4 separate regions of the Homo sapiens genome follow, and regions 1, 3 and 4 are each linked to region 2. Evidence: promoter capture Hi-C in human tissues and cell types (Jung and others, 2019). All regions are on one chromosome and are shown on one strand. The core of a region is centred on a gene start or on the middle of the fragment in contact, and the rest is flanking DNA. Distances in the headings are between cores, read along the strand shown.

The links. Contacts are between HindIII fragments. The study calls those that stand out against the background at their distance.
Region 1: a contact is called between a fragment that was not itself captured here and the fragment with the promoter of POU4F3 in region 2, in 2 of the 25 tissues and cell types used here (H1 embryonic stem cells and liver).
Region 3: a contact is called between a fragment that was not itself captured here and the fragment with the promoter of POU4F3 in region 2, in 2 of the 25 tissues and cell types used here (H1 embryonic stem cells and thymus).
Region 4: a contact is called between a fragment that was not itself captured here and the fragment with the promoter of POU4F3 in region 2, in 2 of the 25 tissues and cell types used here (mesendoderm cells and thymus).

The regions. Positions count from the first base shown.
Region 1 is chr5:146,371,219-146,374,970 of GRCh38, forward strand. It overlaps LOC105378213 (a long non-coding RNA gene), which reads right to left. Exons shown (of 3, transcript XR_001742915.1): 3 at 2,034-2,251. Among named protein-coding and RNA genes, the nearest start is that of POU4F3, 34 kb to the left of the region's middle. The HindIII fragment of the contact is 4,563 bases long and covers 1-3,580 here.
Region 2 is chr5:146,336,897-146,340,342 of GRCh38, forward strand. POU4F3 (POU class 4 homeobox 3) reads left to right here and starts at 1,943. Exons shown (of 2, transcript NM_002700.3): 1 at 1,943-2,336; 2 at 2,652-3,446. The coding sequence starts at 2,217. RBM27-POU4F3 (RBM27-POU4F3 readthrough) reads left to right here. Exons shown (of 20, transcript NM_001414499.1): 19 at 2,207-2,336; 20 at 2,652-3,446. The coding sequence ends at 2,662. The HindIII fragment of the contact is 4,777 bases long and covers 493-3,446 here.
Region 3 is chr5:146,390,579-146,394,106 of GRCh38, forward strand. No RefSeq gene overlaps it. Among named protein-coding and RNA genes, the nearest start is that of POU4F3, 54 kb to the left of the region's middle. The HindIII fragment of the contact is 5,599 bases long and covers 1-3,528 here.
Region 4 is chr5:146,293,926-146,297,467 of GRCh38, forward strand. All of the region lies in intron 18 of RBM27-POU4F3 (RBM27-POU4F3 readthrough), which reads left to right. Among named protein-coding and RNA genes, the nearest start is that of POU4F3, 43 kb to the right of the region's middle. The HindIII fragment of the contact is 6,638 bases long and covers 1-3,542 here.

The sequences.
Region 1 (3,752 bases), core at 49-2,548, 34 kb after region 2:
GCCTCAATAGCTCCCTTCCTACCTGAGGTCATGCTACAGGTGGCTGTTAAAGCCCTCCTTGTCTATGTGCTAGAGCCTTGGAGAATCCTTCCAGGCCATGCCTCCTCTCCCTCATTCAAAAACCCCTCTCCCTATCCTGAACTCTACAGTTCCCATCCTGTTGCTTCAGGCCCAATTTCTGATTCTTTGCTTGCCCCCTTCCTAGTGACACTTGAGCCAAATGAATTGCTTGGCTTTATCCCAATTTCATCTCTGGCTGGTGTTATTCCCGCCCCATATGCAGCCTAGGCCTTGGAACCCTGCTCTAGGAATGCAGCCTAAGATTCCTAGGACGGGAGATCAGCCAATAAACTACATATAATCAGATATAAAATGAAAGAATGACAAAAAAAGAAACGAAAAAAAATTAACCAGGAGTGGTGGTAGGCACCTGTAGTTCCAGCTACTTGGGAGGCTGAGGCAGGAGGATCGCTTGAACCAGGGAGGTAGAGGTTGCAGTGAGCCGAGATCGTGCCCACTCCAGCCTGCTGGGTGACAGAGTGAGACTCTGTCTCAAAAAAAAAAAACAAAAAAAAAAAACGAAAAGTCCCCAGAACTCCAAGATAAAGCTCTAGCAAACCCAGTTGGTCCAAGGTAAACACATGTGGGAAATGGAGAAAACGGATTTTCAACACCTTTCCACCCCCATTTTGTTGTTGTTCTTTAGTGTTTCCCAATTACATGTTGAGCTTGGGAGTTGCCCTTTTACTCAGAATCTTAATAGACATTCTCAACAAAGCTTAGTTATTCTATATTTCAATTGTTTTCAAGATCTTATAAAGTGATAGAATGCTCAGTTAGTTCAGGAGTTCTCAAGCCTGCCTGTGCCTTAGCTCAGCTCAGTTGAATCAGAATCTCAAGGGGGCAGGTGAGGTCTGGCAGTAATATTTTCAAAAGCTGTTGAGGAAGAATAGTTACAACGTGTGGGGTACATTGTAGAGTCAAGAACCATAGAGTTAACTAATCTGACAACCTAAGTAGGGTTGACGTATTAATGTGGGCAAATAACTTTTTTTAAAAAATTAATTTTTTTTTTTTTTTTTTTGAGACGGAGTCTCGTTCTGTCACCCAGGCTGGAGTGCAGTGGCACGATCTAGGCTCACTGCAAGCTCCGCCTCCCAGGTTCAGGCCATTCTCCTGCCTCACCCTCCCGAGTAGCTGGGACTACAGGCACCCGCGACCACGCCTGGCTAATTTTTTGTAATTTTTAGTAGAGACGGGGTTTCACCGTGTTAGCCAGGATGGTCTGCATCTCTTGACCTCGTGATCCGCTTGCCTCGGCCTCCCAAAGTGCCGGATTATAGGCGTGAGCCACTGCGTCCGGCCTTAATGTGTGCAAATGTCTTAATATACTGCTCCTACTAGGACAGTTGTATTTCTCTTTCAGGACTGTCTGCAGACAGTACCATAAGTCAAAAAGTAAATTAATTATGGCATCTCCAGGCCCCATGGCAGTATAAAGCAATAGGTAAAGTTTTGGGGTGGGACAATATTTTAATATCCCTTGGGTAATATCATTTAAGCAGGTCACTTTTCCACATATGCAGAGAAGCAGTCTTGGAGGTTAATAGTTACTTATTGATAAAAAATATTTTATTCTGTAAAATGAAATTACACTTCATTCTTCTGTGTAATCCTGAGCAAGTTACTTAACCTCTCTTAGTTCCCATTTCTTTCTTTATTTAATATGAAGAATAATAGTAGTGACCTCAGAGAGTTGTACTATGAAAATTATATGTAAAGTACCTGGCACCTTAGAAGTGAAAAATAAATTTGACCTATTACTGGATGATCATTTATTTATTGGCACTGTGTTCAGAAGCCATTTGAAAACTAGGTGATGTGAGCAGGTAAATAAATTGGATCTTCTCATGTCTGTGATCAATGGAAGAAATTAAAGTGTTCCCTTCCAGGAACCCCTGGAGTACTACTCAGCATGGAATAACCTTAAAGGAAATTTCCAATAAGGATGACAAGTTTAGGATTACTTACTGGGTTTGTATATCCAAGTCGAACTGCCCTGCTTGGAAGTTGCAGAGTCAATGGAATAGGTAACATGTTCCGAGTTATTTGCTCCACCACTTTTCACATGAACAAGATTGCCAAGGTTTGTTATATGAATAAGGCCAACATAGATGCAGAAAGGTGAGGGGTGATGGGAAATCCAAGATGTTCTAAATGCCATACATTCGCCATGGCACGAATGGCAATCCTGAAAATTTAGAAACAGCTCACATACAAAAATACCAGGTAGACTATGAAGTGTTTGCTCATTGATTTCATGAGCTATAATGAGCACTTACTGTATGCTGGGCACTGAGGTAGTGCTATGAAGAAAAAGGTAAGACATAGACCCAGCCCTCAAGAGGACAGGGACCCCTGGGAGACTGACCAAAAAAGAGATAATTATTTTTATTTATTTTGAGACAGGGTCTTGCTCTGTCTCTCAGGGTAGAGTGCAGTGGCATGATCACAGCTCATTGCAGCCTTGACCTCCCGGGCTCAATCCTCCCACCTCAGCCTCCTGAGCAGCTGGACTACAGGCACACACCACCATGCCCAGTTAATTTTTGTATTTTTTTTGTAGGGGCAGGGTTTTGCCATGTTTCCATGTTGCTCAGGAGATAATTATTAAACAATGAAGTTGAAAGTAATAGTTTCAGGCAGGGCGTGGTGGCTCACGCCTGTAATCCCAATACTTAGGGAGGCTGAGGTGGGTAGATCACTTGAGGCCAGGAGTTCAAGACCAGTTTGGCCAACATGGTGAAACCCCGTCTCTACAAAAAATACAGAAATTATCTGGGCACGGTGGCACATGTCTGTAATCCCAGTTATTCAGGAGGTTGAGGCATGAGAAATACTTGAACCCAGGAGGTGGAGGGTGCAGTGAGCTGAGATAGGGCCACTGCACTCCAGCCTGGGTGATAGAGTGAGACTCTGTCTCAAAAGAAAAAAAAAGTGATGGTTTTAGGATGATTTTATAATATTGAAAGAATAAGAAGACATTGAATTAAAATGTAGGATACAAGGTGGTATATAGAGTGTAATTCTCTTGATATTGAAATATGCCTAGAAAAAGATGGAAAAGAAATACAACATGTAAAAATGCCAGCTAGTAATTTTATCAAAGTGGTGGGATTATGGCTAGATTTATTTCCCTTCAGTTCTATCTATCTATCATCTATCTATCTATCTATCTATGTGTTTTGTGTTTTGTGTTTTTTGTTTTTTATTTTTGAGACAAGGTCTTACTCTGACACCCAGGGTCTCACTCTGACACCCAGGCTGGAGAGCAGTGGCTTGATCTCAGCTCACTGCAGCCTCGACCTCCCTGGGCTCAGGTGACCCTCCCACCTCAGCCTCCCGAGTAGCTGGGACTACAGGTGTGTGCTACTGTGCTTGGCTAATTTTTTTTTTTTAATTGTGTAGAGGCAGGGTTTTGCCATGTTGCCCAGGCTGGTCTCGAACTCCTGGACTCAAGCAATCTGCCAGCCTAGACCTCCCAAAGTGCTAGGATTACAGGCATGAGCCACCAAGCCTGTCTCAGTTCTGTACATTTTTTTATGTATTATTTTCTTAATGAAGAACTTCACCATAAATATTTTTAAAATGAACACTCATTTTAAAAAGATGTCCTGAAATGAAATCAGAAGTGATCTAACTCTCTATCTCTTTGCCATATCTGCCCCAGTTTAGGTTTCCTGAAAGCAAAG
Region 2 (3,446 bases), core at 693-3,192:
ATCCACAGTATGCACGTGCAGACAAACCGGGTTCCAGGAGGATGACTTGGCCCACCCCCACTCTCACATGCTTTCTCTTTAAGTTGAGGAAGAAGAGAGGAACATGTATTCAATGATATCAATGCGCCAGGCACTGTGCCATGTGCTTATCCCAGTGCATTCCTCACAACAATCAATGGGAAATAAATGATCACCCCCATTTTACAGATGGGGACACCGCAGTACAGAGAAGTTGAGAATATCTCGTGGTCTCAGCCAGCAAGAGGCAGAGGCGCATTTTGAATCTGAGGCCAGGGCCTGAGCGCTATGGCACCAGGTTGTGAGGGAGTTTACTGAGCACCAATTTCGTGGCTCAATGCTTTTCTTCTTACCCTAACTCTGAACGTCTTCACCAGAATCCAAGGAGGCAGACAGTAGTGCAATTCCATTTAAGAGCCGCCGAAACCGAGGCTCAGAGGGCTTTAGCGAAAGGGTTGCGCTTGGCTCTAGGCACCTGGGCTGAGTCTTTTTCCCACCATCGCAGGGCGGGAACCAGCGGAGGGGGCTGGCTCGGATGGGGAGAAAAGCAACTGGAGGGCGCCGAGGGGAAGAGGGAGCCCGGATCTGTCAGGGCGTCCTCTTGGACTAAGGGATGTTCCCCTAAACCACACCACCCCACCTCGTTCAGATTCTGGGAAACCCGGCACGCACATACCCTGCACAATAACAGGCAGGGTGAGGTCTCTAAGCCCCGAAGATCGCTCTCTCAGCGGAGGCAGTGGCCCTGACGAGGGGGTACAGCTGCACGCGCGGGGTTTCTCTCCGAACCGGAGTGCAGCGTAGTCGAGGTCCAGGATTCCCCATCCATTATTCACGATGTTTACTAGAGCGGGGCAAGGGAGAGGAAAGAAGAGGGAAGTAGAGAGAAAAAGAGGCTAGGGGAGGTGGAGGCGGGCAGTGCTAACCTCGAGAGCCCTCAAGTTCCGAAACTTTGAGAAGGAAGACCAAGAGGCTAAGGCGCCTGGGAAGCAGCAGGCCGTCAGTAAATATTTGTAAGATGGATGGATAACTGGGTGAGTGAGTGAATGGGCTAATCATTAGCCCCTCTGATCCTTGTTTTCCTCATCTGTAAAACGGGATAACATCACCTACTCCATACGGTGGGTATGAGAATCCCATGGGCAAACTCTAAATTGTCTAGCACATATTAGGAACTCTTAAACGGTAGCTGTTGTCACGAGGAATGGGCTTGCAAGCTCTGGCTGCCCAGCAGAAATGCACTGAAGGACTCCCAGGCCTGGAGGGCCATCCTGAACAGTCGCTATTCTAAAAAAAATACTCCACAAGCTTCCTTAGACGGGAGGGTTGGAGGAAGAGTGGGCCAAGTTACATCCCTCAAATGAAAGAAAGAAAGGCAAGCGTGGGGAGGAAGCCACCCCGGACTGAGAAGGCAGTTACTGCCCCTACCTCTACCCCGGAGCGCGGTTGAGGGAGGTGGGGCAGGGGTCACCTGGGCCTCGTTCTGGCAGCCCCTCACCCTCTCCAGGGCCCGTCTGGGCGCTTGGAGGCGCCTCCTCGCTGCGCCGCGGGACCGGACTCTGGTGGACAGCTTGGGCGTGAGGCCAGGAGCGCCCTGGAAATGGGCAGTTTGGCGGCAGCCGGGCCGACGGAGTGTGTGTGTGTGTGTGTGTGTGTGTGTGTGTGTGTGTGTGTGGTGGAGAGGGGAAGTTGGAGTAGGGTCAACTTCCTGCCCCAGCTCAGCCCAGGGCTACCCTTTTATCCAGGCAGTTCGAGCTGGGACAGGACGGAGAGGTTGGGACTTTTGGGGTGGCATGGGGGAAGGGAAGTCCACGAAGAAGAAAGAATCGGAAAGGTCTGGCGGGTTGGAGCCAGCGGGGCGGGGCGGACTGGGAGAGGCCAGGCCAGGCCCGGGTATAAAGGCTGTGGAGGGGGCGGCCGCCGCGGGCGCAGAAAGGCGCGCCGCTAGCTGCTGTCTCTCCTCACCTCCCGGGCCGCCCCTGCGAGTCCCCGGCGCGTGAGCACGCCTGCGCGCGCCCGGGCCCTTCCTGGCAGGCTGCTTGTAAGATGAGTGAAGAAGCAGGTGGGGGAGAGGGGAGGCAGCGAGCGAGAGGGCGAGGGGAGCGCGGGCGCTGAGCAGCGCTCACTTGGAGAGCGGCAAGCAAGCTAGACAAGCCTGATTCCATGTCACCCGCTGCCACCCTGCCAGGAGCGCGAAGATGATGGCCATGAACTCCAAGCAGCCTTTCGGCATGCACCCGGTGCTGCAAGAACCCAAATTCTCCAGTCTGCACTCTGGCTCCGAGGCCATGCGCCGAGTCTGTCTCCCAGCCCCGCAGGTACGTAGTGGAGCATAATTACCGCTCTAAGGCACATTTTTTGACAGGCACTAGCTTCATGTTTTTTTCATGTCGCCCAGAACAATCGCCGCTGTCTGAACCCCTCTCCTTGTCTCCCCCGCGTTCTCTCCCGGCGCGCTCTCTCTCTCATTCATGTCTCTGATCCACACGTCTGTTCCAGCAGAGCCGCTGCCTCCGTATTAATTTTTATGACCTGGGCTTTGAGGAGAGGCATCTCGGTTGCTTGAAAATGTGTTTTAATCCTGTGTTGACAGTATTCCCTACTGACCGTGCTGTGCGCCTTCTCGCTTGCAGCTGCAGGGTAATATATTTGGAAGCTTTGATGAGAGCCTGCTGGCACGCGCCGAAGCTCTGGCGGCGGTGGATATCGTCTCCCACGGCAAGAACCATCCGTTCAAGCCCGACGCCACCTACCATACCATGAGCAGCGTGCCCTGCACGTCCACTTCGTCCACCGTGCCCATCTCCCACCCAGCTGCGCTCACCTCACACCCTCACCACGCCGTGCACCAGGGCCTCGAAGGCGACCTGCTGGAGCACATCTCGCCCACGCTGAGTGTGAGCGGCCTGGGCGCTCCGGAACACTCGGTGATGCCCGCACAGATCCATCCACACCACCTGGGCGCCATGGGCCACCTGCACCAGGCCATGGGCATGAGTCACCCGCACACCGTGGCCCCTCATAGCGCCATGCCTGCATGCCTCAGCGACGTGGAGTCAGACCCGCGCGAGCTGGAAGCCTTCGCCGAGCGCTTCAAGCAGCGGCGCATCAAGCTGGGGGTGACCCAGGCGGACGTGGGCGCGGCTCTGGCTAATCTCAAGATCCCCGGCGTGGGCTCGCTGAGCCAAAGCACCATCTGCAGGTTCGAGTCTCTCACTCTCTCGCACAACAACATGATCGCTCTCAAGCCGGTGCTCCAGGCCTGGTTGGAGGAGGCCGAGGCCGCCTACCGAGAGAAGAACAGCAAGCCAGAGCTCTTCAACGGCAGCGAACGGAAGCGCAAACGCACGTCCATCGCGGCGCCGGAGAAGCGTTCACTCGAGGCCTATTTCGCTATCCAGCCACGTCCTTCATCTGAGAAGATCGCG
Region 3 (3,528 bases), core at 649-3,148, 54 kb after region 2:
ATAGGAGGCTGTTCTGTGCATTGTAGGATGTTTAGCAGCATCCATGACCTCTAACCACTAGCTGCCAGTAGCACACCGCCTCCTAGTTGTGACAACCAAAACTGTCTCCAGACATTGCCCCATGTCCCCTGGGGGGCGCAAATAGTCCCCAGTTGAGAACAACTTTTCTAAAAGAGTGTCTGCCACTAGCAGACATTCAATAATTATTTGTTGAAGGAATGAAAAAAGAATGAGCAATTTTTAGGTACCTTTATTCTTCATGTATTCCCCCAGCATTCATCACTTACCACAGTCATCACCAGGAGCAGCTCTCAATCTAAAGAAGTGAAAGGCTAAATCTCAGGCATTCGTAGGATACAATGGCTCTCTCTATTATTGTTTTGTGAAAGACAACATGTAGGGGAGAAAGATATGATGGGAAGGGTAGTAAAATAAAATCAGGATAAAGACACTCTGAGAGGCATGCCACCTAGCAAGGTATTGCTTATGAGAATTGTGTGGATTTGCTCAATAAGATTTGTAGACCTTGAGACAATAAGCTTTCTTTCACACTGCTTCCTTTCTGTTTTACAGCCATTGTTCTTCCCCAACACACCTATGGATCAGTTTGAGGTTTCAACATTTGTTTATCTCCAAAGATAGTTGTAATAAAAATAACATTAATAATAAGAATGGTGTTTGTTGAACACTTACTGTGTCAGGCCCTAGGCAGTATCATTTAACTCATAACAACCTTTTGGGGCAGTTCCTACTGTTAGCACCCGTTCTACATATGAAGAAACGAAGGCTCAGAAAGGTTAAGTAATTTGTTCAAGGGAGCACAGCTAGTAAATGTCCAAGGCAGCACAGCTAGGATTGAGAATGAGCTAGAATGACATAGTAATGAGTATATAATATATATAATATTACTCATATATAACAGGTATAGCATAAGTAATATAGTGACAATCACAAGACTTGTGCAGAAGCCAGTCTCATTAATTAATAGCCACGTATGCCATCTGAGGCTATCACTTCTTTTCCACGGTCAGAAAATACATAGCACATTATTATAAAGACAATAATAATGGAAGACTTTTGCTGGTTCTTTGATTTGAATGCTCTTTTTTATTTTTAAACAAAAAGTACTCTATAGGAAAGAATGAAGCCATTAGTGCTGTTCAGTGAAAAGACTTAGTGGACTTTAGCATGATTTCACACATAAGGAAAGGCTGTCACTGCCAAAGAGTATTTTTCCTAAAGAATGTTTCCAGGGCCCAAGAGTCCTTTAAGCTAAAGTACTTATTTGTTGATTCATTGTTTTTTATGCTGAAAGGTACATCAGATACATGGTACAAAATGCAGAAGAAAGGAAATGATCTAGAGTGAAGAATAAGTGTCCCCTCCTCTGCTGCCTCCCAGCAACCCAGCTCCTCTTTCTAGAGGCAATTCTTGTCTCCAGTTCCACATGAGTCCTCGCAGGCCAGTGCTTAAAGAAGCATATAGAGGACTTCAGGGCTTCATCTGTAGAAAGCTTCCCTGTTTCCAGAGCATGTCCACATGCATTTTCTCATCTGAACTTCTCAGCAAACACCCCAAATGCATGAAAGAAATTTGTTGATAAACTCCATGCTTGTCCCCTTCATGTGATTCATCCAGGGTCCTAAGATGAGGACTGGCATTTAACCTCTGGAAAGTACGTGGAGCCCCTATTTTCATTCTCAATTGCATTGTTTAACAAGGTCTGACCTTTCTCTTGCAAGTTGCTGCAATCTCTTCACCCTTTTGCAAAAATCTGATCACAAAATGCCCCATGGGCATTAAGTCATAAAATCCAAATAAAATGGGTAAGACTTGACGATGTCGGCTTAAAAAAAAAAAAGTAGTGATCGTTGAATTTCCTTTCACATGCATGTTTCTCCCCTCCTTTGCTGGGCTCAGATGCCAGCTGTACGTTGCCATGGTCTGAAGAAGGACCTGTGGGTCTCCCCTGGCAGATGCTGCCACTGTTTTAGCCTGAGGGCCCTGCAGGCAGCCCCTGGCAACATTTTTAATTCAACATCAAACTGCAACTTGAAATTTGAAAAAGTGGGGGAAAAATGACAAGATGTCAATGTCTCAGAACCTAGCAAGTGGGGCTTGTAAATATACCCGATTTGGATTTCTTTGAGCTGGGGGAAGTTTCTCATTTTTTGTAGCCACTGGGAGTGACTGAACCCCATCAAAGAGACCTTAAAGGATGCTGAAAGAGCTCAAAGGGGATGCTATGTCTCAAGAAGAGAGCTCCAGACCTGGTCAGAGAGCCTTTTAAATAAGTCAGGTGGCAAGCTGGCCAGGACACATTCTTAAGTCAAAAAGGCAGATTGTAAAACAATAAAGGTCCCATCTTTTGGGGGAAAAAATATGTGTGTGAATGCACACCAAGAAGTTTGGAAGGCAATACTCTGTAATATTTAAAATCTCTTCTTATATCTTTATTGTCTGAACTTTTTGTTTACAAAGATCCTATATATTACTTTTAGAACGAGAAAAAAATACGGTTTGTATAAAATTTGAAAATAAAAAAGATAACAAAGCTGAGTTCCTATTCCCTCAGTACCCACAGGCTCCTGGAACAGAACGTAGCAAGTCCACCATTGCCCAGGCAGCTTGGCTGAGTGCTTAAATCTCCAGATACAGTTCCAGGGGCTTGTTCATCCAAAAAGGTACCTGGCACAACGTGAGCAGCAGTTCTGCCACAGCTCCCAACTTCCATCTGAGTAGAACTTCACAGCTACCCTTGCTTTCATCATTTCCTTTCACACCCACAGCACGTCTGGAAAGTATATGGAGCCACTCTTTTTAGTCTCAACTTGCAGATAAAGAAACTGGGTGTCAGAGAAATTTAAGAGGAAAGCAGTGCATTTGAATGGAAACCTTGTCTTCTTGAAGTCTACAGCGTTTACTGCCACATGCTTTAAGATGTGTATGCATTGGGGAACGATCTTGTGGATTCCTGACCATACACTGCTCATTCGGGTGGTGGTGAAAAAACTTTTCTCTAGAACCAGAAATGTAAACTTGGGACTCATTCAGGGCTGATGCATCTCAAGGTAATACTACATTATCACCCCTGAGAGTGACATTGCCAGATAAAGGCCTTGCTGTTCACTGAATGGTGCCATCTTACCTGGCCACCAAAGTTGATTTTGCAGGATTTTAAGGGGCTGAAATTCTGGCAGGGTCTGTTTCTTGTTCACCAACCTAGCTCTGGTGCCTAGCACAGTGCTTGAAGCATTGTGACTCTCTTTTTTGATGAACAAATGAGTTTGGATCAGAGGTTTAGGAGAGGGAGCATCTTCCTTCTCTTCTCTAAGCTCTGAGTCTGGTTCTCCCTATGGCTCACTTTTGATCCTCTCTGCTCATCTTCTACCACTGACAAAACCTGTCTGCTGATTAGAACTTTGACTCAGAAATAAGTGGAATGGATAATAGAGGTGAGGATTTGGGAGGAGTAGAAAAAAAAAAAGCATTCTAAGAAGAGAGTGGTGGGTAGTAAAATCTTATATA
Region 4 (3,542 bases), core at 579-3,078, 43 kb before region 2:
CTCAGTGAATAAAACTGATGTTCATGTCATTGTTCTGTTTGGGGAGTTGATTTTTTTTACATGTTCAGATTTCTTAGATCATTCCAAATCTTTGTGGATTTCTAATTTTTGCTATTTGGAGAACTTCAAAATGTTTATTGACTTGTAGTTGTTACGGTAATAGTTATCTGAAAAAAGAAAAAGATGTAAGCGGCCTTGAAGAAGAGGGGACTTTTTATTCTTTGACAGCCCATGAGAAAACTAGCCATGTTCTAAGAGATTGAATGAAAAAGTTTTTTATTCTTGACAAATTTTGTAGCATTAGGGAATATTTCCAATATGAAAATTGTATCAGGGAAATTGCTGAGACAAAAGAGAATGATTATAACATCCTGGCCACACAGCACATGTTTTAAGAAAGGTATTTCACCCTAAAAATAAAATCGGATTATGTCGTGTGCTTTTTTTTCCTCTGTGAAGATTCCAGAAGTATGTCGTGTGTTTTTTAAAAATTTTACTGTGATCGAATGCTAAAAAAAAAAATGCATGTTATTAAAGAGTTTTTCAGCATATTTTGCTTTGAAATGTTAAATATAGGGAAGGAAGAATTTTATATTTTATACGTAGAAACTTAATTTCTTAGAATTATAACTTTATTTTTTGAAAATTTTCTACCAATAACTTTAAAGCACTTTTCTCCCTGATTTATTTAAATCCTAATAAATTATACATTTCTGCACTTTAGCCATTCATGTGGAAATTATTTGGAGTCATCTCAATAGAATGGTGCTGTGTGGTCTCCCAAGGCCCCCAAGAATGTCAAAGAAGTTTCATCTACTCTTTGTTTTAAATTTTCAAGTGAATATTATTGATAAATTAGATGAAGCTGAAGAAAAGTCTAGAGATTGAAGTAAATTATTAAAATCTACTTAAGAGTGAGGACTTACATAAGAACTCTTTATGGAAAGCTGTACTGAGATCCTAGTATTTTTGGAAAGCTATTTGTGAGTTATAGACACCTGTCAATTTCTCAGAAATGGTCTTATCTGGAAAAAGAAAAGTAGAACCTAACTGGTACATTCAGACGTGTTCAGAGAACTTTCAATATTGTAAAAACAACATAGCATATTTTGCCTCGTCTGTTTTACAACCATGGAGGATTGCCTTTTTATTCATTTTGAGGTTTTGATTATCATCACTGGCAGTTTTATGCTTCATAGACTTAGGGTAGCAGAAGTGGTAACAGTAGATGGCTTCACTTGTCTTTCTTTCAGCATGGCCTGCATGAATCAGAATCCAAAGAAAACCAGCACACTTAAAATAGAAAAATTGCACTTTGGGAAGCTGAGGCAGGAGGATCACTTGAGCCCAGGAGTTTGAGACCAGCCTGTGCAACACGGTGGAACCCCATCTCTGCTAGAAATACAAAAATTAGCTGGGTGTGGTGGCGGGCATCTGTAATCCCAGCTACTTGGGAGGCTGAGGCAGGAGAATCACTTGAACCCAGGAGGCGGAGGTTGCAGTGAGCCAAGATCATGACACTGCACTCCAGCCTGGGGGACTGAGCGAGACTCCATCTCAAAAAAAGAAAAGAAAAAAAAAAAAAAAGGAAAGAAAAGAAAGAAAAAAAAGAGAAAAAGAGGAAAGGAAGGAAGGAAAGAGAGAGTACAATGAATTTTGATTGGTCGGGTCATCCTTTACCATTCTTGCCCAGAAACATGGATTTTTGTATGTGTGTGTGCCATAAATAAGAAATTAAGAAAACAGATGAGACGGTAAAATATTCCGCACACAGAAGCACTTTAATGACTGTCGAGTAAACGACTTAAATGAAGAACCAGGAGAGAGAACGAAGAACAAGCTATCTCTCTGCCTTTTATTTGGTTAATTTTCATTTCATTTCACCACAACTTTAATGGTGCTAAGAAGAAATTGTTGAAAATTTAGAAAAGGAATTGTGGAAGTTACTACATCACAATATACTTGCTTTTTTTTAAAAAAAATAAAATTAAGCCTTGGTTTCTTTAAGCATGGTTTCATTTTCATTCAGTGCTTTTTTTTTTTTTCCCTCCATGCAGTACTTTTATGTCCGCACTCTTTTTTGTTTGTTTTTTGAGAGAGTCTCACCCTGTTTCCCAGGCTGGAGTGCAGTGGCACAGTCTTGGCTCACTGCAACCTCTGCCTCCCGAGTTCAAGTGATTCTTGTGCCTCAGCCACCCAGCAGCAGGATTACAGGTTTGTGCTACCATACTTGGCTAATTTTTTTATTTTTTGTAGAGACGGGGTGTCACCATGTTGGCCAGGCTGGTCTCGAAATCCTGACCTCAAGTGATCCACCCGCTTTGGCCTCCCAAAGTGTTGGGATTACAGGTATAAGCCACCCCGCGCAGCCAATGTTAGTATTCTTGACCTGAGAGAGGGATGGCAAGCAGAACTCAGGGCCCGCAGAGCTGATGCAGGTAGCTCATCTCCCACACCTTGGGCATTTCTCAGCCATAAAATGGTCCGTAGAGCCTTATGATCAAAATAAGATTGTTTACCATGTCATTGCTCATTATGTGACTCACTGTGCTGTTTCTTAAACATTATTAAGTTTCTTAAACATTATTATTTAACTCTGAGGTATACTATTATTTTTCCTTTTTTGTGCAAGAGGAAACTCGGGCATAGAGCAGTTGTGTCACCGATAGTCTCAAAGCAAAGCCAACAATTAAAACCACGTTATGCCTGACATCAAAGTGGGGCTTTTAACCATTGCTTGATACTGTGCTCACATCTCAATTCTTGCTACTTGTGAGTAGGGATTAGTCTTTTTTGTTTTGTTTGTCTTTTTTTTTTTCGTTTATTTGGAGACAAGGTCTCTCTCTGTCATCCAAGCTGCCTGGTGGGAGTGCAGTGGTGCTATCACGGCTCATTGTAGCCTCAACTTCCTTGCTCAAGTGATCCTCCTACCTCAGCCTCCCAAAGCACTAAGGTTACAGGTGTAGTCACTGCACCTGACCTTCTTAGTCTTTAGAAGACTCAGTTTACTCATATAAAATGAACATTATAATATTAGTACCCATTTAATGTTCACAGGGTTGCAATGAACATTAAATGGGAGTTCACTGAAGGTATTTTGTGAAATGTACATCACTATTAGCAGATCTAAGCTTCATCAGATTGTCTCGAATTATTTTCAACTGCAATTGAATTTTCTACCTTGGTTATTAAATCTTGTGGGATCACCTAAATAAATGTGTAAGCAATGTTGAAGAAAAGAGAAAGGTATACTGCATACCTGAGTTGGCACCTCTATATTTCTATAGTACTGTACACCATGATAATCAACTAGATAAAGACAGCTATAGGTAACGACATTTTCTAATCCTTAGCAGTTGTAAGTACACATTGCATGTAGTCATGAGTTGCCTCAAATACAGCATGTTTTAACAGTCTTATAAATCACTTCCCAAGATGGTAGAAAGGGCTCACTTTCCAGACAAGAATCCTTTCTTGGCCGAGCGTGGTGGCTGACACCTTAATCCCAGTACTTTGGAAGGCCAAGGCGGGTGGATCACGAG